Regions from separate parts of the Homo sapiens genome. Here all the other regions are linked to region 6. The links are contacts of gene promoters, found by promoter capture Hi-C in human tissues and cell types (Jung and others, 2019). All regions are on one chromosome and are shown on one strand. Each heading gives the region's core, a stretch centred on a gene start or on the middle of the fragment in contact. The rest is flanking DNA. Distances are from core to core; before and after follow the strand shown.

Region 1 (4,326 bases), core at 682-3,181, 220 kb after region 6:
ATTGGTATCTCTGCACAGTTTTACATTGGTTGCTGTAAAGATTACAACATGTACATGTAACTATTCATGATCTATTTAGATTTAATAATAGGCCTAATATTTTCCCAGTCATGTAGACCCCTTACAGTTCCTTCTTTTGGTTGAAGTTTCATGTATATATATATATGTGTGTGTGTGTGTGTGTGTGTGTGTGTGTGTGTGTGTGTGTATATATATGTATATATGTGTATATATGTATATATAATATTTTTCATAAGTAGAAATTATATCAAAAATGCTATAACTTAGCTTTTGATATGCATATTTTCCAGAACTGTAGAGCTAAAAATTTGGTCTTTTACTACTATATTTATTGGTTATTCTTCCTGCATTCTTTGGGTTCAATGTTTCCATTATCATTTATCTTCCACCTGAAAATTTTCTCTTAGAGTTGATTTGTTTTGATTTTTTTTAGATGAATTCTTTCAGGTTTTCTTCATCTGACAAAGTCTTATTTTTTACCTTTTTTAAAAAAAAAAAATCTTTACCTGGATATAGCATTATGACTCAACAGTTCTTTCTTTCTTTCTTTTGACTTTGTAAGAACATAACACTGCCATTTGGCCTCAATGTATACTCATAAAATACCTCTCATTGTTTGAATTGTTGATTTTCTGTATATATTATAAAGCTTTCTGTCTGCTTTCATAATTGTGTCTTTATCTTTGGTTTCAGTAATCTATTATTACATGCTTGGGCATTTGAAAAACCTAGCTGTTTGGCATCACTGAGTTTCTTAGGTCTTTAAATGCATGTTCTTTACAGAAAGTCTTTAGCAATGACCAGTGGCTGGGGAGAAAGGGTGAAGGGTGGCTGCTAATTGTGGGGGTTTTTTTGTGGGGTGATGAAAACGTTTTAAAATTAGATTATGGTGATAGATGCATAATTCTGTAAACACAATAAGACAATTTAATTGTACATTTTATACGAAGTGAAATTTATCTCACTTTTTCAAATAGAGACAATGTGGGAACAAGGCCCGCTGACCCTTTGCAGGGGCCTGTGGCTGAGTCTCACTTCCTCCCTTGCTTAAACTGTACGATCAGCCACAGGCACCCTCTTTGTTTGTCATAGGCAAGTATGGAGTGATCAGCCTCGGGACAGGCCAAGGGCAGGTTTTTGTCTCGGTTCCCCATGTGCCTGCAGCACTGTGTGAGCACTGAGGCTGTAGTCCCATGTTGAACAGTAATAATCAGCCTCGTCCTCAGGCTAGAGGCCCGAGATAGTCAGGGAGGCTGTGGTCCCAGACTTTGAGCCAGAGAAGCGGTCAGGGATCCCTGAGGGCAGAGAATTTCCAAACATCACAGTTTTGGGAGCACCGTGAGAAATCTGTTGGTACCAGCCCACAGCATAACTTCCAACGTTGTTGCTGTTTCCAGTACAGGAGAGGGTGACCTTCTGTCCCACGGTCCCTGACACCGAGGCTTCCTGGGTCAGCGCAGACTGTGCCCAGGACCCTGGAACAGAGGAGGCAGGCACAGAGAGGTGAGTCTGGGTTCACTACCCACCCCACAATGTTAAAATATAAGAGAAAAGTCATCCCATGTGTCCCCAATAATCACTTTGGCATTCCACAGGCAGTCACCTGAGCAGAGGGTGAGAAGCTGGAGGAGGAGAGGGGTCCAGGCCATGGTGGAGATGCCCCAGGCTCTGCTTCCTAAGCCCACAGCTGAGCAGAACTGCACAGAGTCTCTCTTATCCTCTCCTCCTAAGAGGGCACAGAGCACCCTTCATGCAAATCACACCCCTCCCCCTGCTATCCCTGGGCCTGAACTTGGGGAAAGTTGAGTGTGGGGTGGGGCTAGAGGAGCCTCTTCTGCTCCTGGGAGGTCCCAGCTGCTGGGCCCCAGAAAGCACAGAGCAGAGGGCCCAGGGTAGGGGTCCAGGGCCTGGTTTCCCAGTTGAAACCCCCACAGACCCTCAGGGACAGGCCACACTTCCCTCCACTGTCTCAGAGCCCAGGTTCATTCCTGACTGGCTTGAAGGTCCTCAGCACTGCCTTGCGCACACCATCCCCACACAGAGGCAGCGCTCACGCCCCTCCACCCCCACCCCAGGCTCTTTGTGCTGCAGGTGCTCACCACAGCACATTTCTCGCTGCAAGATGGGCCTCCTCAGCATGAAGTCATCCTCTGCTTCTTCCCCATTTAGATTTTTGTGTGGTTGGGGCCATAGGTGAGTGAGCCTCAGAGAGAACATGTCCTGCACCCAGTGGCCAGGAGGGCAGGAGGGTTAACAACCCTCCCCAGCCTCCATATGGGCCTGAGGGCACCTGCTTCTCTCTCTCATCATACCCCACATCCCCCCGTGGGAGGCCGGGCTCCGTGACCCTCATCACTGTCCTCATCACACCCTTGATGGGGTGAGACCCTTAATGAAAATGCACAGGGAAATTATTCAAGAAGAGACCATCATTATGAAAGAGAGAAAAGTCTGCTTCTCTTATGGATACTTGGACCTGAGGAAGATGACCAAGGTCACCACTCTCCCTAGATACAGCCCAGAGAGGGGCCACCGGGATGACTAGGCACCAGGTAGGATGTGCACATCAGGGTGAAATTGGGAATGGGGGAGGTTAAGAATAGAAGGGTTAGAGTTTTATGGAAAGATCAAGAAGATGACCCAAAAGTTCCGAGACACCTTGTCTAAGCCCTTTACTCACAGTCCAATGTGATTTAACCATTCAAATTTTTTGTTTTTGAGAATGGGCTTTGCTCTTGTTGAACCTCCGCCTCCCAGGTTCAAGCGATTCTCCTGCCTAAGCCTCCCGAGTAGCTGGCATTACAGGCACCCATCACCACACCTGACTAATTTTTGTATTTTTAGTAGAGACGGGGTTTCACCGTGTTGCCCAAGCTGGTCTCAAACTCCTGACCTCAGGTGATCCACCGGCCTCGGCCTCCCAAAGTGCTGGGATTACAGGCATAAGCCACCGCGCCCAGCCTCAAGTATTCTTTTATAGCACTTACTTTGTGTCAGGTACCATTCTATTTGCATCGTGAATGTTAACACGATTATTTTTCCGAGGACCTAATCCGCAAGTGTAGTTTCAGTGGCATTGTATGCTGAGATAGATTACACATACACACACACACACACACAACACACACACAAACGTAAATGTTTGTGTATGTGTTTAATGCTTTCATCTGCATGATTCAGAAAAAATTTAGCATAGTATCTTTCACAGTGATCCACACAAAACAAAAAGATGCCTGTGACCTTGACAATTTGATTCTCCATGGTAACGCTAAAACCTGTATAATATTATTACTTAGTAGTCACGCAGTAAATATTTTTGAATTGAAAAATTAGTGAATATTTAAACACACACACACACACACACACACACACACACATTTCCACCTATCCCAACCCTGGGTAAAAAAATACGATGACAATATTCATTTCAGTCTTCCTCTTTTATTTAATAATAATCCTCCATCTAAATTCTCAGCCAGTTTGTTGGGAGTCAGCCGAGATAGATCTGCTTTTCTCACACACAAGCTCCAAGCCCTCTCCATGTCCAATGTATTCTACAGCATAAAGTGACAAGGAATCTGCTCTCTCCTCTTTACCCCACAGTAACTCACCTAGATCTTCCCACCAGGATGGCATGAGCAACCACATCCTGTCTTCCTGTCCCAGGCCTCTCCATTCTATTCTCATTACAGCTGGAGAGTCACTGATCAAATGCCAATGTGAGTTCATCTCTCCCACCTCACAGCCCCGCAGTGGCTCTGTGTGCTTTTCTCAGGAGGCTGATCTGCCCCAATCTGCACCTCCAGCTCTGCAGCCACCCTAAGTCAGAGGTGTTAGAACCAGAGTGACTCCATGTTGAATAGGGGCTTGATTAAATGAGGCTTAGGCATGCTGGCCTGCATTTCCAGGAGGTTAGGCATTCTTAGTCACAGGATGAGCTAGGAAGTCAACCAGACTGGGATCACAAGATACAGGTCATAAAGACCCTGCTGATAAGACAGGATACGCTAAAGAAGCCGGCCAAAACCTACTGAAACCAAGACGGTGAGGAAAGTGACCTCTGGTTGTCCTCACAGTTAGAAATGCTATGGCAACATCCACAAGTTACCTTATGTGGTCTATATTTTTAAAAAGAATTCCTGAAAAGCTAATAAATAATCCACTCCTTATTTAGCATATGATCAAGGACTATCTATACAAATAGCCGACCAGCAGTGTTTGGTGCTGCCCTGTCTATGGAGTAGCCATTCCTTTATTCATTTACTGTCTTAATAAACTTGTTTCCACTTTATAGACTCCTCCCAA
Region 2 (4,829 bases), core at 1,360-3,859, 130 kb after region 6:
TGATTAAGATGGTAAATTTTATATGTATATTTTTACTATAATTTAAAAATCACCATCACAGGTTTGAAATATAAATATAACTTATTTTGTATAATGTAGAGTGTGTTCACATCAATAAGAAAAACCTAATATACCGATAAGAAAGAAGGGTGGGGGTGTATCAGATGCAATCCATCCTGTCTCATGTCAGGCAGCCCTGAGAGGGATGTTGGAGTCATTGACCAATTGTCTTGTTTGACTCTCACTATAATTTGAAGCCATTACAAAGGCCCCATCCAGTCCTGGGGGGTGGAAAAGAGGAAGAAGGCAGGAGCTTCTAATGAACGATTGTCTGCACAGGCTCCTTCTTTCACCTGTGCAGAGAAGGGAGAAGCAGAGCAAGATGTCCCTAGAGTTGCTTCCTAAATACTCAGAGTGGGGGCACAACTCCCCTACAGATCTCTGATCTTCTGCCACTATTATGAAATGGAACTTGTTCATTTTAGTATCATCATCCTTATGTGTCCCCAGCCTCACTGAAATCTTGGCATGCGTATCAGATGAACTTGGGATGAAGGAGAGGGTGATAATCATGGGCCTGACAAAGTCGGTGGGGAGAGGCAGGTGCTGAGTGTCCTCTGCACACTGCGAAGTCACAAGCACAGTCATATTCCACTGTGGAAAAGACTGTTTGCCCAACATCCCTGGAACCACAAAGACCTGCATCCTCTGAACCTCAAGAGGAGTGAACAGTTCAGAGACAGGCTGGAATGAGCAGTTGTGAGGAAGGTGACCTCACTCACTCCTGGAGCTGGTCAGTGGAGCTGGGGTTGGGGCATGCTGGACCAACCAGCTGATCAGAAGTTCTCAGACCACACACATCTCTAAGTCAGGTCTAGGCCCTAGTTTGGACATGTGTATGGTTTGAATATCCCCTCCAAAACTCATGGTAGAATTTAATTATCATGGTAAAAGTAATTGGAGGCAGGACCTTTAAGAGGTGATTAGGTCATGAGGGTTCCACCATCATGAATGGATTAGTGCCCTTATCCTGGCAATGGGATAGATATCTCAAGAGTGGGCTCCTGATAAAAGGATAAAGTTCAACCCTATTTACTCATTTTCACACTCTTCTTTGCCCTTTTTCCCTGAGATAATGCAGCAGAAAGACCCTTGCCAAATTTCAGCATCTGCTTGTGGACTTCTAAGGCCACGGAAATCTCAACCAAATAAACTTTTAGTCTCAGTAAGTTACCCAACATATGATATTCTATTATATCAGAAGAAAATGGGGGAAATGGACTAGGACAGCACGTGTAGGTTATTCATCTCCTTCCTCTTCTGTAATCTTCCTGGAGGGAAACTTAGCTCTAAGAACTGACCTACTCCACTGTAGGCATCATAAGGGGAAAAGATATGAAAAATATATCAAATTAACATTTTAAGAAAAAAACACATTTTACATCTATATATCCTAGGAAAATTAGACACTGGCTGAAAAAGTAACAACAGGAATCAATCCCTGAGCCAGAGTTGGTCCCAGGCAGGACAGTGGTGATTGCACCAGGCAGAGAGAACACAGGGGAGGTCCTAGTCTCACTTCCCTGGGGTTCTGGAGCACTGTGGAAGTGCCATGGCTGCTGAGATATGTAGTAGCCTCATCCTCTGGCTGCAGCCCAGAGATGTGCAGAATTACTGCATTGGCTGAGGCATCTTTAGATTTAGAAAAGTGACCGGGGACCCTGGAGCCATGGTGCTTACTTGAGTCAGATTAGCAGACTGTTCTACACGTGCTGTCCTAGTCCATTTTCTCCATTTTCTTCTGATACAATAGAATACCATATATTGGGTAACTTACTGAGACTAAAAGTTTATTTGGTTGAGATTTCTGTGACCTTAGAAGTCCACAAGCAGATGCTGAAATCTGGCAAGGGTCTTTCTGCTGCATTATCTCAGGGAAAAAGGGCAAAGAAGAGTGTGAAAATGAGTAAATAGGGTTGAACTTTATCCTTTTATCAGGAGCCCACTCTTGAGATATCTATCCCACTGGAGATATATCATCTCTCAGGAGATACTAGAGAGCACTCCCTAGATGCTACTGGTAGCAGGATATGTGCTAGCCACCAGCAGTGAAGCCACAGCTCAGGGTAAATGTGAGCCTCAGAATTTCCCAGAGATGCAGAGAGGGAGGGTGGCTGAGTCAGAACAGGCCGAGGTGGGGGGAACCTGCAAACACAAATGCTCATGGGTGAGTAAGCAGGGATGAAATGTGAGAGTGGAACACGGGGCAAGAACTCAGACTGGGAGGCTTTCCCAGGAATCTGAGGCCTGTCCCTACCTGATAAGTGAGAGGGGAGCAGCAGGGAGGAGCAGGGGCCCCGGCCATGGTGGACACAGCCCTCCCGAGGTCCAGAGCTGGAGTGGCTGCCCTAGGCCTCTCTTATCCCCTCCACTGGCCTCACAGAGGAAGGGTTATGGATGCAAATGTGTCCCACCCACTGCCTGCCCCCACCCCACTCTATGCATTTATTCAAGACCTGGGGACTGGTGGATGAGAGAGTCTGGCAGGACCTGGGAGGAAGTGGGTGCTGGAACCACACCCAGAGAAGATGCAGCAGCTGAGTCGGCTTCAGTGAGTGCAGGCTCCACTGCCCAGCCCTGGGGAGTTTAGGGGTTGGCACAGCTATGAATAGCCACTGTGCAGACCGTGAGACAGACCCACAGTGCCCCTGCTGCTCACTGGCCAGACTGCAGTCTCAGTGGGAATCATGTGAGTGCAGTCATCTAAGGGCCTGGTCCAAACCATCCATGAGCCATGCCCCTGCTCTGTCCTGAGCTACTGGTATTAATAAACAGCCTTTTCATTGAGGGCTCCTGGATTACTAGAAGAAGGACATATGGGAAATATAACAATGGCCTAATGTGACGAGGCTACAGTGAGGGGAGAATGCAGACAGCTTCTGGAGCAAAGACCCGGGCAGCTCCTTCCACAGGGATCCACCTCTACTCACAGAATAGGAAGGAAAAACTTAACATCAGTTAGAAATACATAAACGAAGGCCTCAATTGTTTGTTCCTGTGATGATTCATTGGATGCGTTCATCCATGAATGCATACTCAAGCAACTACCCTTCAGGCTTGGGTTCCTGGTGTCACTGGATTGATTTTGTTAATCATGGTTTTCACGTATTTGTATGTATACTCTTTTTTCTCCATGTCATTCACTCAGTTAATAAGAGAGTTGTATTAATATCTGTGTATATGATTATGGATTGATTATTTCTCTTTTTAATTCTGCTAAAAGAGACAGTTTTGCTTCAAATACTTTAAAGCTATTTTATTAGGTGCATACAATTTACAGTTGTTATGTGTTGTCATTGAACACCTTATTTCACCAGTATAAAATGCCTCCCTTTTCTTGGAAAAAAATGTTTTTCATAAAAGCTTTCATACTAATACTAACTTTAGAGTAGGCAGATAGCTAGACAGAAGCAGGAGGGGCAGCCCCTGAGAAAAGGGAGTTCTGGAAAATCTCACACCCCAGAGACCACCCAAAGCACACATGCTAGATACGAACAGAGATTAGGGTAAATACCTATGCCAGAACAAAGCCCCTTAAGACACCCAGTATTCACTCACTCTGAAGTTAACCTGTCAGAATGTAGCTAGCTGCATGCTGATAATAGGGGTGAGAGCAAAGGAGAAATTTCTAAGAGAGATGCAGGTACAGTAAGTATAGATTTGACCACCATACAACCTTCCTGGGGTGGCAGTAATGAGCAATGCAGCCATTAGGTAGAATTCCTATCAAACACTGGGCCCATGTGTGTGTTAAGGGAGGGTCCCACAGCCTGGGCTGGAAACTATGTGGGGAAAAGGCAGGGACTTAAGGCTGAAGCAGAAAAACTAGAGAAAGAAAAAAAGGTGGAGACTTAAAACAGAGGTGGGAACTCCAAGAAAAAGTGCAATATCATAAAAACTCAGTGCACATTTCTCGGGCCGCTGGCTCATTCTCTATCAGCAGCCCGCTCTGCCTTATCTTCCAGAGTACACTGTCTCTCTAAATAAACTATTTGCTCTCTGTTTTTCTTCAGTAAATTCTCTTTTTTGCCTAAATTGTCTCTTGGCCAAAACTTTCTCCCAAGACAAAGGACAGAGGATTGCCATACTTGCTTTCTGTAAGTGGTTTCATGGTATTTTCTATCCCTTTTTCATGTTAATAAGAACGTTTAATGTGTGATATACCCTCTGAATAAAATTTTAAGTACATAATACAGTGTTGTCAGCTGTAAGCACAGTGTTGTACAGCACATCTCTAGAACTTGTTCATTTTGCAAACCTAAAGCTTCATAGCCCTTGAGCAGTGACTCCCCATTTCCTTCTCTCCCTACCCCTGGCAACCAGCATTCTACTCCATTTCTGCTCGGTTGAGTATATTAGACACCTCCTATAGGCCGGACGTGGTGGCTCATGCCTGTAATCCCAGCACTTTGGGAGGTCGAGGCAGGCGGATCACCTGAGGTCAGGAGTTCGAGACCAGCTTGGCCAACATGGTGAAACTGTGTCTCTACTAAAAATACAAAAATTAGCCAGGTGTGGTGGCAGGCACTTGTAATACCAGCTACTCAGGAGGCTGAGGCAGGAGAATCGCTTGAACCCGGGAGGTGGAGGTTGCAATGAGCTGAGATCGCGCCATTGCACTCCAACCTGGGTGACAAGAGCAAAACTCTGTCTCGAAAAAAAAAAATTAGATACCTCATATAAATGAGGCCGTGCAGCATTTCCCCTTCTAAGATTGGCTTATTTCACTCAGTGTAATATCCTCCAGGGTTTTCCCTGTTGCTGCATAT
Region 3 (4,637 bases), core at 1,802-4,301, 250 kb after region 6:
TCTTCAATCTGGAAATACAAGTGGGGTCATACAGTATTTGTCCTTTGTGACTGGCTTATTTCACTCAGCCTAATGTTCTCAAGGTCCGTATGTGTTGTAGCGTGTGTCAGAATTTTCCTCCTTTTTAAGGCTGATTAATATCCCATTGTATTTATATACATGTTTTGTTTATCCATTCATCTGCTGATGGACATTTGTGTTGCTTCCACCTTTTGGCTGTTATGAATAATGCTGCTGTGAACATGGGTGTACAAATATATCTTCAAGGCCTTGCTTTTAGTCTTTTTGGGTATATTCCTAGAATTGAAATGGCTGGATCTAATTTTAGTTTTTTGGGGAACCACCATACTGTTTTCCCAGCAGTTCGACCATTTTGCATTCCCAGCATCGTACAAGGGTTGCAATGTCGCCGTGTCTTCACCAACACATTTGTTTCTATTTTGTTTTTTTGATGGTAGCCATCCTAATGGATATGAAGTAATAGCTCATTGTATTTTTGATTTGTGTCTCCCTGATTAGTAATAGTGAATGCATTTTTATATGTTTATTGGCCAAAAAATTATCTTCTCACTGTAACACTGTACTCCACCTTTTAGCACTATTCATTCACCAACCAAGGAGTCCCACTCATTGTTCATTACGGATGTGTCAGAGATTGAAATCTCAGAAAAATCAGTATGGGTCTTACCTTCATAGGTATCAGTTTTATTGGCAGGAGTTTTTTTTCTTTCCTAGGTGGTGCATCTTACAAATCTACCTGTCTCATAGCCATTTGACATTTGGCAAGAGAAGACAGAGCCAGGGAACCATCCTGGAGGGTTTTTTGCTGCTGGGTTTATGGCATAGCTCTAAGGGTAGGGAACAGAGGGTAGACAGGGTCTCCTGCTGCCAAGACCTTGACTTCGTTAGACAGCTTTCTTCAGTTAGGTAAGCTACAATGGAATCCTCTCCCAGAAAGTTCCTCTTTTTGCCTAAGCTACCTATGGTCAGGCTCTGTGGATAATGAAAATCAGATCCTTCAATAATTCTACAAGCTCTTGGGAGAGCTTGCTCTATGTGTTTTCACGGATTGATTTCTGTTCTCAGGTCAACATAATATTGTTTTATGTAAACATATGGTAATATTAGTGTTAATGTTAAATAGTGAGATCAGAACACATGATTAAATATAGAGTTTATTTGCGCACAAAGCTTGAGTATAGCCACCCAGGAAACACTAACTCCAGATGAACGGGGTCAGCGTTCCAAAGCAGTGAAGTTAAGGTTTCACTTATGTAGGCAGAGACAGAGAAATTTTAGCAGGATTGCAGAGTTTTCCATACAAAACCAGTGCATTCATTACAGTGATTTGGTTGGTTATAGAATGCTATATTCCAAGAAAGATTACTTTGTTACTCCCTGAGAAGAGGTAGTGATCTGAAGGGGTCCTATATCCGGTGCCATTAGGTCTTCCTAATTTTCTATAGTACAAGAATAAGGAAGAAAGTTGATTTAAATCAGAGAAGTAGAAGTTGCAGCTGCATATTACATGACTCAGGCCACATAGCCACATTTCTCTCAAGGCTCAGAATAATTTCAATTTCCAGTAACTTTAAGTTTGAATTTTTTTTTTTCTTTGAGACAGGGTCTCACTGTCTCGCCCAGACCGGAATGCAGTGGCCGGATCTTGGCTCACTGCAACCTCTGCCTCCCGAGTTCAAGTGATTCTCCTGTCTCAGCCTCTCGAGTAGCTGGGATTACAGGCATGCACCACCATGCATGGCTAATTTTTTCTTTTTTGTATATTTAGTAGAGACAGGGTTTCACCATGTTGGCCAGACTGGTCTCAAACTGATCTCAGGTGATCCAGCCACCTCAGCCTCCCAAAGTGCTGGATTACAGGCATGAGCCACCACGCCCAGCCAGTTTGAATTAATTTCACATTAGTATCTCTTCAATAGTCTTCTCTTAGTTTTGTTTTTGTTATTTCTTCTAGATTAAAGTCATAATTAGACATTATTTAAAATGTCCTAACTATAACAATATTTATATCTTTTCAATATTTGCTCTCCTCATCCATTTACATCTTTCCATTTATTAATTTTACTCCATTACATTAATTTTTTAATTCTTAATACTGTTTTCACATTTATTGTCATCCCTAGATGACAGAAAAAAGTGAGTGAATAGTTTATTTCATACATCTACATTACTTCTGCCATTATACATTTACAGCTCAGTTCTTGCTGGAAATACTGGGCACTCTTGTGCAGTCACATCAGCAGAAATACTCCTATTAATTATATTAACTGTTTCCTATTTTATCCTTTTTAGCTTCCAATTGTTAAAAGATAATTTTCAGAAAAGTAGAATTGTGACTTTATACAGATATAGAAATGAACATGTATTAAAGAATTTATTTTACTCATATAATATGAAGTACCAGGCAGATGTTAAAGAAGAGTTAAGACAGCACATATTTATATGACATGAAGGGATGTTGAGATGAATTTCAGATGGAGACAAAATTTTCCACAGGTAGAAGTTAGGAGAAAATCATTACCAGACCAGACAGAATTTATATGTCTATCAGTTACCTACAACTTATAAAGTTAAAAAATAGCTCAAAGATAATGAACAGGACTCAAATCTGATAACCCAGAAGGGTACATTACAGAGGATCCATTGCTTTCCACTGTAGAGGAGAAAAAATCATAGCTTTTCCTCACCCATCTCAAGGGTCTTTGCTGATACCCCTATTTTAAAAAGGCAGATTAACAAGAGGACACCATAACAAATGTATCAAAGTTTTGCGTGATACAGGAACCTTCAGAAATGAAGACTCAAAGACCCAGGGAGAACTGTAGTTCTTAATTTAAAATTTTTTTTAGAGACTGGGATCTTACTGTATTGCCCAGACCGGCCTTGAATTCCTGGGCTCAAGCAGTCCTCCTGCCTCAGCCTCCCAAGTACCTGGGATTACAGGTGCATGTCACTGCACCTGACTATCTGTATATATGTATGCTTAGGTTTGATGAAGGATGGACAGTCATGTACAAGTATGATTGGACAAAAAACCTGTGGTCTAATGGTAATAAGCTGGGGAGAACTTAGCAAGGCCTGTTCATTCAGATTCTTCTTGGCCCCTCTGTGTAGCATTTCTTTCCTCCTGGTAATAGGACAGGACACCTGTCACATGGGGTGGAGGTCTCACTGCCTACTTTCAGGAAAGGAAGGTCAAAGAATTCCTTTATGACTAGCTCTCACACAGAAAGGCAGGGAAAAGTCAGAGAGACACCTTCAAAGTTCCGTATTTCGGGGTGACATTCTGAGCCGCAACACCATTTTTTCCTACACTATGTACATAATCGTTTGCCTCTTTTTATTGCCCTAGACAACCCTATTGTTATGTGTCTTACTGCACCGGCTACAACTTTCCCAAACAATGTTGATAGTGTGCATGCTTGTTTCTAATTCAGACATCAACAAAAATACCCATGATACAGCTCCTCTCTTTCCCTCTCTCTTTCTTTCTCTGTCTCTCTCTGTCTCTCTGTCTTTCTCTCTCTCTCTCTCTCTCACACACACACACACACACATATATTATATATATATGTTTATATATAGAGAGAGAAAAAAATTTTGATTAGTCATGGAGAAATAATGATAAGACAAAAGAAGTATGAGAGTATGAGCCAAGTGTAATAAAATGGCGGAACAGCGGGCCTGTGTGTTCAGATCCCTCTTGGCAAGCGTTCATCTTTGGAAATAAGGATATGCCTTTCCTTCCTGTATAGGGGGAGTACCTCTCACAGGAGGGTCTTATACCTACTACAGGGGAAGGTCAGAAAATCCTGCCTGCCCATGCCATTTCTCAAATTCCTTCAGCTTAAAATATTCAGTATGCCAAGTTGCTGTATTTTGGGAAGGCACATCCTAAACTCCATCAAAGTCCTGCTAGAAGCAGATACCAAGATGGAAAAACATCCAAGGATTTTTACTAGGGGAGCCCCCTATGAGGGGCATTGAGGGGTGAGCGGGAAGGCATGGAGACCCCACTGACCTACATCGCTGTGTTTGGTGAAGCAGAACTGGAGGGAAGGTTGGGTGGAAACGTGTGCACTCAGGAAGATTTAGCAAAGCTATCAGGGAGTCCTGAAGCCAAAGGTGGTTGTCAGAGGAGTGATGTCTCCCAGGAACTAGTCTGTCACATTGTCTCCCAGGAACTGATCTGTCCCCAGTCATTGTTGGTGAGCAGCATGTGGTGGTGTGACTTGGGCCTTAAGGCTGCCAGGGATTCCTAAGGGCAGTGGGTGGGGCCCTTGGTTCAGGTGCATTTCCTGAGTTGGAGGTGCAGGGCACACTCTCATGGTGGCCACACCATCTTCATCTTGTTTCTAACTTTAAAAGCAATGTTGGCTGGGCGCGGTGGCTCACGCCTGTAATCCCAACACTTTGGGAGGCCAAGGCGGGTGGATCACGAGGTCAGGAGATCAAGACCATCCTGGCTAACATGGTGAAACCCCGTCTCTACTAAAAATACAAAAAATTAGCCGGGCGTGGTGGCGGGCACCTGTAGTCCCAGCTACTCGGGAGACTGAGGCAGGAGAATGGCGTGAACCCAGGAGGTGGAGCTTGCAGTAAGCCAAGATTGTGCC
Region 4 (4,971 bases), core at 204-2,703, 190 kb after region 6:
AATGAGACAGAAGGTTAACAAGGATATCCAGGACTTGAGCTCAGCTCTGGACCATGCAGACCTAATAGACACCTACAGAACTCTACACCCCAAATCAACAGAATATGCATTCTTCTCAGCACCACATCGCACTTATTCTAAAATTGACCACATAATTGGTAGTAAAACACTCCTCAGCAAATGTAAAAGAAAAGAAATCACAAAAAACTGTCTCTCGGACCACAGTGCAATCAAACTAGAACTCAGGATTAAGAAACTCACTCAAAACCACTCAACTAATGGAAACTGAAAAACCTGCTCCTGAATGACTACTGGGTACATAACGAAATGAAGGCAGAAATAAAGACGTTATTTGAAACCAATGAGAACAAAGACACAACGTACTAGAATCTCTGGGACACGTTTAAAGCAGTGTGTAGAGGGAAATTTATAGCACTAAATGCCAACAAGAGAAAGCAGGAAAGATCTCAAATCGACACCCTAACATCACAATTAAAAGAATTAGAGAAGCAAGAGCAAACACATTCAAAAGCTAGTAGAAGGCAAGACATAACTAAGATCAGAGCAGAACTGAAGGAGATAGAGACACAAAAAACCCTTCAAAAAATCAATGAATCCAGGAGCTGGTTTTTTGAAAAGATCAACAAAATTGATAAACCGCTAGCAACACTAATAAAGAAGAAAAGAGAGAAGAATCAAATAGACACAACAAAAAATGATAAAGGAGATATCACCACCCATCCCACAGAAATACAAACTGCCATCAGAATACTATAAGAACCTCTACACAAGAAAACTAGAAAATCTAGAAGAAATGGATAAATTCCTGTACACATACACCCTCCCAAGACTAAACCAGGAAGAGGCTGAATCTCTTAATAGACCAATAACAGGTTCTGAAATTGAGGCAATAATTGATAGCCTACCAACCAAAAAAAGTCCAGGACCAGACAGACTCACAGCCGAATTCTACCAGAGGTACAAAGAGGAGCTGGTACCATTCCTTCTAAAACTATTTCAATCAATAGAAAAAGAGGGAATCCTCCCTAACTCATTTTAGGAGGCTAGCATCATCTTGATACCAAAGCCTGGTAGAGACACAACAAAAAAAGAGAATTTTAGGCCAATATCCCTGATGAACATTGATGCGAAAATCCTCAATAAAATACTGGCAAACCAAATCCAACAGCACATCAAAAAGGTTATCCACCACGATCAAGTCAGCTTCATCCCTAGGATGCAAGGCTGGTTCAACATATGCAAATCAATAAATGTAATCCATCACATAAACAGAACCAGCGACAAAAACCACATGATTACCTCAATAGATGCAGAAAAGGCCTTCGACAAAATTCAACAGCCCTTCATGCTAAAAACTCTCAATAAACTAGGTATTGATGGAATATATCTCAAAATAATAAGAGCTATTTATGACAAACCCACAGCCAATATCATACTGAATGGGCAAAAACTGGAAGCATTCTGTTTGAAAACCAGCACAAGACAAGGATGCCCTCTCCTATTCAACACAGTGTTGGAAGTTCTGGCTAGAGCAATCAGGCAAGAGAAAGAAATAAAGGGTATTCAACTGGGAAAAGACGAAGTCAAATTGTCTCCGTTTGCAGATGACAAGATTGTATATTTGGAAAACCCCATCATCTCAGCCCAAAATCTCCATAAGCTAATTAGCAACTTCAGTAAGGTCACAGGATACAAAATCAATGTGCAAAAATCACAAGCATTCCTATACACCAATAGTAGACTAACAGAGAGCCAAATCATGAGTGAACTCCCACTCACAATTAATACAAAGAGAATAAAATACCTAGGAATCCAACTTACAAGGAATGTGAAGGACCTCTTCAAGGAGAACTACAAACCACTGCTCGATGAAATAAAAGGGGACACAAACAAATGGAAGAACATTCCATGCTCATAGATAAGAATAACCAATATCATGAAAATGGCCATACTGCCCAAGGTAATTTATAGATTCAATGCTATCCCCATCAAGCTACCACTGACTTTCTTCACAGAATTGGAAAAAACTACTTTAAAGTTCATATGGAACCTAAAAAGAGCCTGCATAGCCAAGACAATCCTAAGCAAAAAGAACAAAGCTGGAGGCATCATGCTACCTGACTTCAAACTATACTACAAGTCTACAGTAACCAAAACAGCATGGTACTGGTACCAAAACATATATATAGACGAATGGAACAGAACAGAGGCCTCAGAAATAACACCACGCATCTACAATCATCTGATTTTTGACAAACCTGACTAAAAAAAGCAATGAGGAAAGGATTCCCCCTTTAATAAATGGTGCTGGGAAAACTGGCTAGCCATATGTAGAAAGCTGAAACTGGATGTCTTCCTTACACAGTATACAAAAATTAACTCAAGATGGATTAAAGACTTGAATGAAGACCTAACACCATGGCCGGGCACGGTGGCTCACGCCTGTAATCCCAGCACTTTGGGAGGCCGAGGCGGGCAGATCACAAGGTCAGGAGATCGAGACCATCCTGGGTAACACGGTGAAACCACGTCTCTATTTAAAAATACAAAAAAAAATTAGCCGGGCGCAGTGGCAGGTGCCTGTAGTCCCAGCTACTTGGGAGGCTGAGGCAAGAGAATGCAGGAACCCGGGAGGCGGAGCTTGCAGTGAGCCGAGATCACGCCACTGTACTCCAGCCTGGGCTACAGAGCGAGACTCTGTCTCAAAGAAAAAAAAAAAAAAAAGACCTAACACCATAAAAAACCCTAGAAGAAAACCTAGGCAATACCATTCAGGACATTGGCATGGGCAAAGACTTCATGACTAAAATACCAAAAGCAATGGCAACAAAAGCCAAAATTGACAAGTGGGATCTAATTAAACTAAAGAGCTTCTGCACAGCAAAAGAAGCTATTATCAGAGTGAACAGGCAACCTACAGAATGGGAGAAAATCTTTGCAATCTACCCACCTGACAAAGGGCTAATATCCAGAATCTACAAAGAACTTAAACAAATTTACAAGAAAAAGCAAACAACCCCATTGAAAAGTGGGTAAAAGATATGAACAAACACTTCTCAAAATAAGACATTTATGCAGCCAACAGACATGAAAAAATGCTCATCATCACTGGTCATCAGATAAATACAAATCAAAACCACAATGAGATACCATTTCACACCAGTTAGAATGTTGATCATTAAAAAGTTAGGAAACAACAGATGCTGGAGAGGATGTGGAGAAATAGGAACGCTTTTACACTGTTGGTGGGACTGTAAACTAGTTCAACCATTGTGGAAGACAGTGTGGTGATTCCTCAAGGATCTAGAACTAGAAATACCATTTGACTCAGCCATCCCATTACTGGGTATGTACCCAAAGGATTATGAATCATGCTACTATAAAGACACATGCACGTGTGTGTTTATTATGGCACTATTCACAATAGCAAAGACTTGGAACCAACCCAAATGTCCATCACTGATAGACTGGATTAAGAAAATGTGGCATATATGCACCATGGAATACTATGCAGCCATAAAAAAGGATGAGTTCATGTCCTTTGTAGTGACATGGATGAAGCTGGAAGCCATCATTCTAAGCAAACTGTCACAAGGACAGAAAACCAAACACCGCATGTTCTCACTCATAAGTGGGAGTTGAACAAGGAGAACACATGGACACAGGGCAGGGAACATCACACACCAGGGCTTGTTTGGGGGTGGGGGGCTGGGGGAGAGATAGCATTAGGAGAAATACCTAATATAAATGAGGAATTGATGGGTGCAGCAAACCAACATAGCACATGTATACCTATGTAACAAACCTGCACGTTGTGCACATGTACCCTAAAACTTAAAGTATAATAATTTAAAAAAAGGTTAAAGAAAAGAGTTATTGTCCCAGTGAAGTAAAAAAATTACATTTTTTTGAAAGGTATGACAATAAAAGTCTGTAAATTATGTGTGAAAATATTAACAAAATTTGAACTTTTGAAGTGTAATTTTGAGAAGTTTTAAAGAGAAATAGATGTTAAAATTAAAAATCAATGTTTAACTCTTTTATTTAGAGTAAATTAATATTAAGAAAACTGTGTTTGGACATAGAAAATCAAAATATTCAGTTTTGTATTTGTGTATTTTCAATATTAAAGTTTAATATTTAGGAAGACATAATTTTTAAAATTATAGTCCTGTTAATTATACTTAATTTTATTAAATAATTCCCAAATGTATTTTACTATAATTTACATAGAGTAAGATATGTTGGGACATAATTCCCAAATGTATTTTATTATAATTTACATAGACTAAGACTTGTTGGGACATTTTGATTTGTCTTCTTAAAATAGTAAATCATCTTATTTTAGGACAAAAATTATATAAGATTGTTCAATATAAAATTATGTTCTAATGTTTTTTACAAAAAGATATCTATATTTATAATATTTTATATCTCTCTAATTTATTTTATATTGCTTTATAAGTAACCATTATATAACATCTTAACTTGGCAAAATTATTTTAATAAAGCATATATTTTATGACTTTGCTTTTTTAACTTAAAAACATATATTTAGTATTTTTATTTTTGTCTTATTTTATATATTGAATTATATATTAATTAGAATTTTTAATTATTTTAACAATAATTTTTACTCAAAACCTAGGATGTAAGAAACTTTGAATTGTCTCTCATAAATTCATCTTTTATACATGAGAACTATTTTAATATTTTTATAACTATATCCAAAATATATATTTTTAATTTTAAATGACCTACACTTTTTTAAGAGTACCTATTATTTAATTTATTTTTTAAGATTTTAAATTATACAAAAAGTTTAGATAGAAGTGTTTACTTCATTTATATTCATCTAATTTAGTTACTTAAAAATTTATTTAGATTATATGTGAAAACTGAGACACAAGAAAATTATTTTTATTTCTCTAAATCATTTTTTCTTAGTAA
Region 5 (4,793 bases), core at 1,210-3,709, 150 kb after region 6:
CTTTCCCCCTTGCTTATTGTTGTGGATTCTGTCAAGGATCAGATGGTTTTTGGTGTGTGAGTTTACTTCTGGGCCCTCTCTTGTGTTCCACTGCTCTGTGTGGAAGCAGGTACCCAGTTTTTCCATGAAATTTGAAATCGGTGGGTGAGATGCATCTGATGTAGTCTGAATGTCTCAGGATTGCTTTGGAAGAAATTCAGGGTGATTCATGGTCCCATGTGAATTCTAGCATCATGTATTTATATTTCTTTAAACAAATTTGCTGAATAGTAAAGGAATGCAATGAGAGGGTAGAGTGCGACATTTTGGTCTTTGCATACATTGTGGAATGACGAAATCAGGGTATTTATTTTTTCTGTTATTTCGTACCACTGTTTATTCTTTTGTGGCGAGAAGCTTCAGTATCCTCCTTTCAAGCTGTTTTGAAGATGTAATGATGCTATTAACCCTAGTCACCCTGCTGTGGAATAGAAAAACAGAATTTCCTTCCTCTCATCTGTGTGGAACTTTCTACCCCTTTCCAATCCTTGCCCCTTCCCCTTCTTCCCCCCAACCTCTGGTAACCATGATTATGCTTTCTAGGTCTTTGAGATAAAGTTTCTCAGCTTCTGCATGAGTGAGAGGATGCAAAGTTTGTCTGTCTCTGCCTGGCTCATTTCATTTACCATCATGTCCTCCAGGTGCAACCGTGTGGCTCCCGTGATGGGAATTCATTGTATTTTTCTGGCTGAAGAGTATTCCAGTGTCTACGCATGGGACAGTTTCCTTATCCCTTCATCTGCAGATGGACAGGTCGGCTGATTTCTCATCTTGGCCATTCTGCATAGTGCTGGATTCCACCTGGGAACGCAGATAATCTCTTCCATGGCTTGATTTCATGTACTCTGTATATACGACTAGTAGTAGATTGCTGGATGAAATGGTAGTTGTGGTTTTAAGGTTTGGAGGGACCTCCAAGTGGTTTCTTTAGTGTGTGTACTAGTTTATGTTCCTACGAACTGCGGAGACAAGTTCCCCCTCTGGAAATCCACACCATCGTTTTTTTGTCTTTTAATATTTTTCAACTTTTTTTTTGTAGTATCCATTCCATCTAGAGTGAGATGGAATCTGAGTGGTGGTTTTCATTTTCTGTGTGTGTGTGATTAGTTATATTTGCCATGTTATTGTTAATTTGTTTTGAATTTGATGTGTAAAAGTGGGCAGAGGACCTGAAGACATGAGGTTGATGCACAGGTAAAAGATAAGATTATCAACATGGCCGATTCACACCAAAACATGATTGAAAACCACACTCAGATTCTATGTCACTCCAGTTAGAATGAATACTACCAACATTTGATGGCAGTTTCATTACTATAGAGTGTATGTATATAACCAGAGGGTGCAAGGGACATTTTGATATATGTATACGTAGTGTCATGATCAAATCATGGTGTCTGGCTTCTTATTATTTCCCTGTGGAGAGAACATTCAGAACCATCCTTTCCAGCTGTTTTTGAAAAATTCCCCTAGACATTGTTGACCCTGGTCACCCTGCTGTGGAATAGAACATCAGAATGGATTCCTCTCCTCTGAGTGTTACTCTGTACCCATTACCAATCCCTGCCCAGGCCCCCTCCTCTCTCCAGCTTCTAGTAACCCCTATTGAAAGTTCTGCTTCTAGAAGACAGTGTTTTTTGGATTCCATTTGCCTAATGTCATGCAGTATGGGTCTCTCTCTAACAGGCTCATTTCATTTCCCCTAATTGTCTTCCAGGTTTCTCCACATGGCTGCAGATCAATGATTTCCCAAACTGTTATGGCTGAAATGCTTTCCATCATGTATATATCCAGTTCCTTTATCTCTTCATCTGTGGATGGACAGTTAGGTTGATTCCATATCTTGACTATTGTGACTAGTGCTTCAGGACACATGGGAAGGCAGATACCTCTTCAATGCAGGGATTTTGTTTCCTCTAAATGTGTACCCAGTGGTGGGATTGTTAACCTGGAGTGGTGGTTGTACTTTGACCTTTTACTTTTTTAAGGAACCTCCAACAGTTTTGCATAGTGTGTATACTAATTTACATTCCCACAAAGAGCGTACAAGAGTTTTCCTTCCTGCAATTCTACACCAGCCATCACCTCCAACAATTTTTATTTTTATCTTTTGCAATATTCATTTTAACTGGAATTATATGGTACCTGAGTATGGTTTTGATTCACTTTTTTGTGAGGATTAGTGATATTGAGAAACTGTTAACCTGTGAGTCAATTTCCTGTCTTCTTTACACACATGTCTATTCAGATCCTCTTAGCTTGGGTATTTGTTGTTGTTGTTTTTGTTGTTTTTCATTTAGTAGAGTGAGTTTATTGTAGGTGTTAGATAACAATCTCTTTCAGAGGTAGGACTTTCCATAATTCTCTCCTAGTCTTTAGGATGCATTTTGTTTGTTTGTTTATTTCATTGTTTCTTTCCCCCTGTAGAAGTTCTAAAGTGTCACTAGTGTCTTTGTTTATATTTGCATGTTAGCTGTAATTTTTGTATCCAAACCTCCACCCTACAAAACACACACACATACACACACACATATATAGCCAAGCCATTGCATTGTCTGTGCATGTAGTTCCCCTAATTTTCCCTTTAGTGTTATGATTATTTTTCACCTTTTGCAGCCTGTGTGCATAGATACAGGCTTCCTAAAATATACACCCAACCTATGTTTTCTTATAAGACCTTTGCAGTTTCAAGATTGAGTTTAGGTCTTTAATTTATTTTGTGTTGATTTTGTGTATCGTGCAATGCAAAGGTCTTATTTCAGTGTTTTGCATGTGCATATTCAGTTTTCTCAAAATCACTTCTTGAACCAGACTCTCCCTTTCCCATTGTGTCTTTTTGGTGTTTTGAAAAATGTGTTCCCTATGTATCATGTTGGGTTGAGTATTTGGCTGCCTCATTCTGTCCACTGGGTCCTTGTTCTGTGTTTGTGACAGTCATGGATTGTTTGGATAACTATAGATTGTGTTTTTTCATTTATTATTTTCTTCGCTTCTGATCTTGACTTTTTCTTTCAATGCTCTTTACTCTTACTATTCTAGTTTAAAGGGTACACATGCAGGTTAGTTACATCTGTTGATTGCATGACACGGAGGCTTGGGGTCCCAACAACCTCATGACCCAGGCAGTGGGCAGAGGATCCACAGGGTGGATCCTCTTTTTTTTTTTTTTTTTTTTTGGTCTGGTAGTCATTCCCAGTGTCTGTTGTTCCTTTCTGTATGTTCGGGTATATTCATAGTTTAGCTCCCACTTATAAGTGAGATCATGCAGCATTTGGTTTTCTGTTCGGGGCTTAGTTCACTTATGATAATGGCCTCCAGCTCCATCCACGTTGCTGCCAAGAACATAACTTTCTTTTATGGCTGCATAGTGTTCCGTGGTATATAAGTAACACATTTTCTTTATCTCGCCCACTGTTTTATTTTTTATTTATTTATTTTTTAATTTTTTGAGACAGTCTCCCGCTCTGTCATCCAGGCTGGAGTACAGTGGCACAATCACAACTCACTGCAGCCTCGACCTCCCAGGCTCAGGTGATCCTCCCACCTCAGCCTCCTGATTAGGTAGGACTACAAGTGCCTGTCACTGCATCTGGCTAATTTTTGTATTTTTTATAGAAATGGGGTTTTACCATGTTGCTCAGGCTGGTCTCGAACTCCTGGACTCAAGGGATTCACCTGCTTTGGCCTCCCAAAGTGCTTGGATTACAGGCATGAGCCACCGCACCTGGCCTTCTCACAGTTTTTGAGGCTGGGAAGTTCAGGATCAAGGCACTGTCATCTGATAAGTGCCTTTTTTCTGTGTCCTCACATGGCAAGAAGAGAGACAGAGCACACCGCTACCTCCAGCCTTTATATAAGAGACCTGATCCCAACCGTGAGGTCTCCGTGTTCAAGACTATATCACCTTTTGAAGGCCTACCTCTTAGTACTATCACACTGGCAATTAAGTATAAATCCTTTTGGAAGGGAGACATTCAAACCAGAGCACGATGAAAACAGCAGCACTGGAAGGCAGGGCTCCTCACGTCAGTCATTTACTCCAGGGGGACGGGAGCCACCCTGCAGAATGCAGCTCAGTCTTGGGGAGAGAGACGAGGGGATAAGAATGGGACTAGGAATAGACATGGGAGTGCCCCCTGCTCACAGGACAGAGAGGAGAAGCATCAAATCGGGTAAAAATAATGAATGCCTCATTTATTTCTTCTAGCACTTATTCAATCGTTTCAGTAATACATATTCATTAGCCAACTACTCCTCAGGTTTGGGCTCCTGGCGTCAGTGGGTGAATTTGGTTTTTCAGGTTGTTCACATATTGTTATGTGCAATTTTTTTTCTGCTGATTCACTCAGTTAATAGAAGTGTGTGCTATTATTTATAACTATAATTGGGAATTGATTCTTTTCTCTTCCTTAGTCCTGCTAATTTATATTTTATATAGATTATATTATTAGGGACATGTTTTTTGGTTTGTTTATTTGTGTGTGCTTTTTTGGTTTGTTTTGTTCGTTTGTTTGTTTGTTGTTGTTTGAGATGGGATCTCACTCTGTCACCCTGGCAGGAGTGCAGTGGCGCTATCTTGGCTCACTGCAACCTCCACCTCTCAGGCTCAAGGGATCCTCCTACCTCAGGCTCCCAAGTATCTGGGACTACAGACACATATGCCACCGTGCCTGGCTAATTTTTTTTTCTGTACTTTTTAGAGATGAAATTTTGCCATGCTGCCCAGGCTGGTCTAGAACTCCTGAGCTCAAGCA
Region 6 (4,997 bases), core at 1,021-3,520:
GAGGGACTCATGACCACACATGGAACGCTGATACTGACATGTGTCCACCTCTCTGGGGAGATGCCTCAGGATCTTTTTAGCTGGGGTGAATGCACGTTCCCAGGCAAGTTGGGGTTACAAGGGAGATGGTTTGCCCGGCACCTCTCTGAGTGAGGCATGTCTACAGGTTGTGTGAACACCCAATGTAGAGAGTCCCTCTCCGCAAGGCACACTCAGACCCACCACCCACGGGCTCAGGGGGCCTTGCTGTGGGCCGGGGCTGCAGGGAGCTCCCCATTGCTACTTCACCCAGACAGTCCAACACAGTCTCAGTGAGACCACGTCCTTCATGCCTCTAGGTATCTCCATGGGTCCAGAGGCTTCTGCCTGGGGTCACAGGCAAGATAAGTTGAGGGGGGACTCTGATTATCCCACCAAGCATGGCTTGCTTAAAACCTGGAGACAGGAGCTGGAGTGCTCCCGAGCAGGGCTCAGCAAACTACAGCCTGGGCGCCATACCCAGCCCAGTGTAGCCCCATCTGTTTCTGTAAATACAGCTTTATAAGAACACAGCCATGCCTCTTTGTTGACATGTTTGTCTGTGGCTGCTTTCTTGCTACTAGGACAGAATTGAACAGTTGTGACAGAGATCGCATAGCCCACAAAGCCAAAAATATTTACCACCTGGCTCTTTATAGAAAATGGGCTGGGTGCAGTGGCTCACGCCTCTAATCCCAGCACTTTAGGAGGCCCAAGCAGGGGGATCACTCGAGCTCAGGAGTTTGAGATCAGCTTGAGCAACATAGTGAGACATTCATCTCTCCAAAAATAAAACTAAATAAATAGCCAAGCATGGTGATGCACGCCTGTAGTCTCAGCTGCTCAGGAGGCTGAGACAGGACAATCACTTGAGCCTGGGAGTTTGAAGCTGCGGTGAGCTATGATTGCACCACTGCACTCCAGCCTGGACCACAGAGCAAGACTTTATCCCTAAAAAAAGGAAAAAAAGAACATGTTTGCCGACACCTGCCACTCTCTTGTACAAATAAGTAAATGCATTTACTTGCTCATCTAGACCAGTGGTTCACAATCAGTGTGAGTTTACCACCTGGGGACATTTGGCAATGTCTGGAGACATTTTTGTTTGTCACAACTGGGAAGGGGCATCTGGTGGGTAGAGGCCACAGATAACCACTCACCATTCAACAATCCGCAGGACAGCCCCACAACCAAGAACTGTCCAGCCCAAAACGTCGATAGGACCAAGGTGGAGAACCCACTCTAGGCCTATTACCTGGCTCCTGTTCTCCCTGGAGGCCCAGACCAGGTGCTTTCTAAGCTTGTTTGCCCTGTAACCGCTGGGCAGAATCAGATGACACCAGAGGGTCCTGTCCTGGGCATGGATGCCCCTCCAGGGTGCTTCGGTCAACCCCTTGCCTCCCATGGCCCACAAAAGTAAGGACTCAGGTGAGTGCTCACCACAGTGATCTGCCAGTCTCCCGGGGCCCCGGGCCTTTGCCCAAGGCTGGTACTACGAAGTCGCACAACAGTCAGACCAAACTCAGCAAAAAGTGACAAGCAGCTTTAATTCCCTAATGCAGTCTCCAATGGGGATTTACAGCAACACTGCAGGACCAGGAGATGCTGAGTGGCTCAGCCTCCTCGGCGCTTCGGGCGGCGACTCCACCCTCTTCCATGACAGTCTCTCCAAGGGGATGCGTGCCTCTGCTGTCTTCAGTTCAAGGGACACGTGTCCTGGCTGCAGTGGGTTCCATTTCTTCCTCCCACTCCCTCTCCCTCTCCTCCTTCTCCGAGCTGCGGGCCCCCATAGCACAGTAATACATAGCCTCGTCCTCAGGCTGCAGCTCAGAGATGCTCAAATACCCCCTGTTCCTGGCCACATCTTTGGATCCAGAGAAGCGAGGGGGGACCTGGGGGCCCTGGCTCTTGTCTGATTGTGAGAAATATCTCAGCAGGAACCTGGGAGGGTGGCCCGGCCTCTGCTGGTACCAGTAGACGCTGTACACACCGATGTCATGGTCGTTCCTCAGGGTGCAGGTGAGGCGGATTGTGGTTCCAAGGGCCGAGGACATGGCCGGCGGCTGATGCAGCACCGGCTGAGGACCACAACCTGGTGACACAGATGCATGTGGGCCGTGGGGGCAGGGCAGGATGAAGGAAGGGGCAGGAGTCTTTGGGATCTGGGGGTTCCCTCACCTGTGCAGTAGACAAACAGCATGAGCAGGACAGGAGCCCAGGACATGGTGCAGACATGCAGAGCTCTGACTCCTGTGGCCACGGTGCCTGGGGTCCCCAAGGGCTGGCCCAGCATCCTCCTCCCTGCTCTGAGAGGTGGGGCCGTGGCACACCCCGTTCCTGGCCACTACCATCCCAGACTTTCTTGGGTCTGCAACGTCGGTTACCGGAACAGCGTCGGGGCAGCATTTGTGGCTCTGATCTTGCCATATGGAAGCATTCAGGGAGGAAGCACCTGCTGGAGACTCTGGGGCCAGTGCCCTGGAGGCCTTTGGGTTAAGGTACCTCAGGGGTCGTGACCTCAACTTCCCCCTGAGGAAACCGCACCCCAGATAAATAAATTTTCTGTCTACATTTAAATGCTTGGTGAGCCAGGAAGGGAGGACACATCCTCGGGGGGTGAAAACACCTGCTTTGTACAGCAGAAGACACTGGGGGCCCAGAGCGGGTTGGGATGTTCTGCCCCTTCCATGTTGCAGCACTGCCTTCGGCCCATGCTCCTCTCCCTACTAGAACCAAGTAGAGTGACTCAGGCATGGGAAAGAAGCACCAGGGCCTGGTGCCTTCCCCACCCCTGTTCTGGCTCACCGAGCAGGTGCAGCTTGGCACTGTGATAGACTGAATTGCATCCCCCAAATCCATAGGTTGAAGCCCTAACCCCCAGTGTGCCTGTATTTGGAGATAGGGCCTTTAAGGAGTTAATGAAGGTTAGATGAGGTCATAGAGGTGGGGCCCCGGTCAGTACAACTGGTGTCCTTATAAAAAGGGGAAATTTGGGAGCCGGATGCAGTGTCTCACACCTATAATCCCAGCACTTTGGGAGGCCAAGGTGGGAGGATCACTTGAGCTCAGGAGTTCGAGTCTAGCCTGAGCAACATGGCAAAACCCCATCTCTACAAAAAAAATTTAAAAATTAGCTGGTCATGGCGGACAGGCACCTGCAGTCCCAACTACTTGGGAGGCTGAGGTGGGAAAATCACTTGAGCTTGGGAGGTTGAGTTGAGGCTGCAGCAAGCCAAGATCTCACCACTGCCCTCCAGCCTGGCCAACAGAGGGAGACCCTGCCTCAAAAAAAAAATGAGAATAAAAATAATACATTAAATGTATGTTTGCATACTACCTGCAAGATTTAAAAAAAAATTAAGGGGAAATTTGGACTTAAAGTCTCTGATCCCACATGCTCACCCTCCCTCAAAAAGCTGGAGTGTCTCCTCCCCTGGAACCTGTGCAGGCCTGTGATCAAGGCTGAAGTGTCCCTGGGTGCACGAGGTGGCACTGAGCAGCTGGGTGTGCACTGGGACTGTTTACTTGCAAACACTTTGATAGAGCAACCACCCCTGAGGCTCAGATGAGCCCCTGCTCGGTGTCAAGCTGCCCCACATCCATTCTCTGCCTGGTGAGGTGCAGGCTGCACCAGTTTCAGCCCGCAGGGTCGACTCTGGGAGCCCCACCCTTCTTCCCACTGCCTCTCTGGCCAACAGCTCCACTGCCCAGGTGAGGGCTGGGGAGGGCCTCTGCAGACACAGGATGTCTTGACCACTCTGTCCAGTAACAGCTGCAACCACATCTATGACCTGTTGCTCCTCCCTCCTCTGCACAGGCTGGTGGGCAGTGGGGAACTAACCAGTGACTGCTGACTCCTGGAGAGGAGAAAGGAAGCTTTTTTCACTCATTCATTCATTTATTCCCTCATCCAGTAGCTCATTCATGTGTTGTGCACGTATTTGTGAAAGAGAAATATACCTCCCAGACCCCTCCGAGAGCACCAGTCCTTGGGAATCAGGGCAGGAGAAGGTTCCACCTGTGGGCACCAGCACTACTGCAGTCCCTGAACTAGCCCTACCACTGACACTGTCAGAGCTTTTTGATCCTTTTAAGCTCAGAGAGGATAGGTGTTTCTACTTGCTCTTACAATTATACTTAGAGAGCAAATAAGCCCAGCCCTCAACCGTAGAGACACTCTGGTCCCAACTTTCTTTCACAGGCTTCACTGACCCAGGACCTTTGCATCACTCACAGAGCAAGATAGTATCCAGTGGTGACTGTGCGTGCTGGGGAATGACTGGGCCTTCCAGACCCTGCTGGAGATGGTCTCAGACCCCTGGAGCATCTAGAGTTAGATGCAGGTCATGCACTCTGAACTCTGCATTCTCCTGGCCCTGGGCCACTCTTCCCACCTCTGTTCCCTCAGCCTTGTCCTCAACCCACCAACACCTGGACTCAGGGATCATCTGCAGGGCACAGCAGTTTGATGGGATTGAAGAACACCATGTATTCAGTCCTTTCTGGCTGCACTCAACTCTTTTTAGATAATTCTAGACCAAGAGAAGGTTGGTGAGCTCTGTAACAGACCTCAAGGTCTACAAGGGTCTCAGGGGAGACAGGAGCTATTCAGTGCTCCTGCCTGGTTTGTAGATTTTTTTTTTTTTTTAGAGACAAGGTTTCACTCTGTTGTCCAGGCTGGAGTGTAGCGGTGCAGTCACAGCTCACTGCAGCCTCGAACTCCTGGGCTCAAACAATTCTCCTGTCCCAGCCTCCCAAGTAGCTGGGACTACAAGCACATGCTACCACACCCAGCTAATTTTTTTTACTTTTTGTGGAGACAGGGTCTTGCCATTTTGCTCAAGGCTGGTCTCAAATTCCTGCGTTCGAGAGATCCTCCTGCCTCAGCTTCCTAAAATGCTGGGATTACAGGTGTGAGCTACCCACCGCACGCCCGGCTGAATAGATATTTTAAACTGTTTCAGCGATCCACTGCTACG

The links. The method cuts DNA at HindIII sites, captures the fragments that hold promoters and counts their contacts. A contact is called where the count stands out against the background at its distance.
Region 1: a contact is called between a fragment that was not itself captured here and the fragment with the promoter of VPREB1 in region 6, in 1 of the 25 tissues and cell types used here (spleen).
Region 2: a contact is called between a fragment that was not itself captured here and the fragment with the promoter of VPREB1 in region 6, in 2 of the 25 tissues and cell types used here (dorsolateral prefrontal cortex and mesendoderm cells).
Region 3: a fragment that was not itself captured here is called in contact with the fragment with the promoter of VPREB1 in region 6 in 1 of the 25 tissues and cell types used here (dorsolateral prefrontal cortex).
Region 4: a contact is called between a fragment that was not itself captured here and the fragment with the promoter of VPREB1 in region 6, in 1 of the 25 tissues and cell types used here (IMR-90 fibroblasts).
Region 5: a contact is called between a fragment that was not itself captured here and the fragment with the promoter of VPREB1 in region 6, in 3 of the 25 tissues and cell types used here (lymphoblastoid cells, mesendoderm cells and spleen).

Annotation. Positions count from the first base shown.
Region 1 is chr22:22,023,420-22,027,745 of GRCh38, reverse strand. It overlaps the pseudogene PRAMENP, IGL and the pseudogene IGLVI-70. Among named protein-coding and RNA genes, the nearest start is that of TOP3B, 43 kb to the right of the region's middle. RefSeq lists a silencer at 1,023-1,142 and an enhancer at 2,243-2,422. The HindIII fragment of the contact is 3,317 bases long and covers 273-3,589 here.
Region 2 is chr22:22,108,950-22,113,778 of GRCh38, reverse strand. It overlaps IGL. Among named protein-coding and RNA genes, the nearest start is that of TOP3B, 130 kb to the right of the region's middle. RefSeq lists a silencer at 2,047-2,116 and an enhancer at 2,437-2,516. The HindIII fragment of the contact is 8,065 bases long and covers 1-4,829 here.
Region 3 is chr22:21,997,366-22,002,002 of GRCh38, reverse strand. It overlaps the pseudogene PRAMENP. Among named protein-coding and RNA genes, the nearest start is that of TOP3B, 17 kb to the right of the region's middle. The HindIII fragment of the contact is 5,385 bases long and covers 359-4,637 here.
Region 4 is chr22:22,049,873-22,054,843 of GRCh38, reverse strand. It overlaps IGL. Among named protein-coding and RNA genes, the nearest start is that of TOP3B, 70 kb to the right of the region's middle. The HindIII fragment of the contact is 5,123 bases long and covers 1-4,014 here.
Region 5 is chr22:22,090,623-22,095,415 of GRCh38, reverse strand. It overlaps LOC102724653 (a long non-coding RNA gene), which reads left to right. Exons shown (of 3, transcript XR_938059.3): 2 at 681-792. It also overlaps IGL. Among named protein-coding and RNA genes, the nearest start is that of TOP3B, 110 kb to the right of the region's middle. The HindIII fragment of the contact is 5,829 bases long and covers 1-4,793 here.
Region 6 is chr22:22,242,059-22,247,055 of GRCh38, reverse strand. It overlaps VPREB1 (V-set pre-B cell surrogate light chain 1), which reads right to left and starts at 2,270. Exons shown (of 2, transcript NM_007128.4): 1 at 2,197-2,270; 2 at 1,541-2,110. The coding sequence starts at 2,242. The coding sequence ends at 1,719. It also overlaps IGL. The HindIII fragment of the contact is 13,267 bases long and covers 1-4,997 here.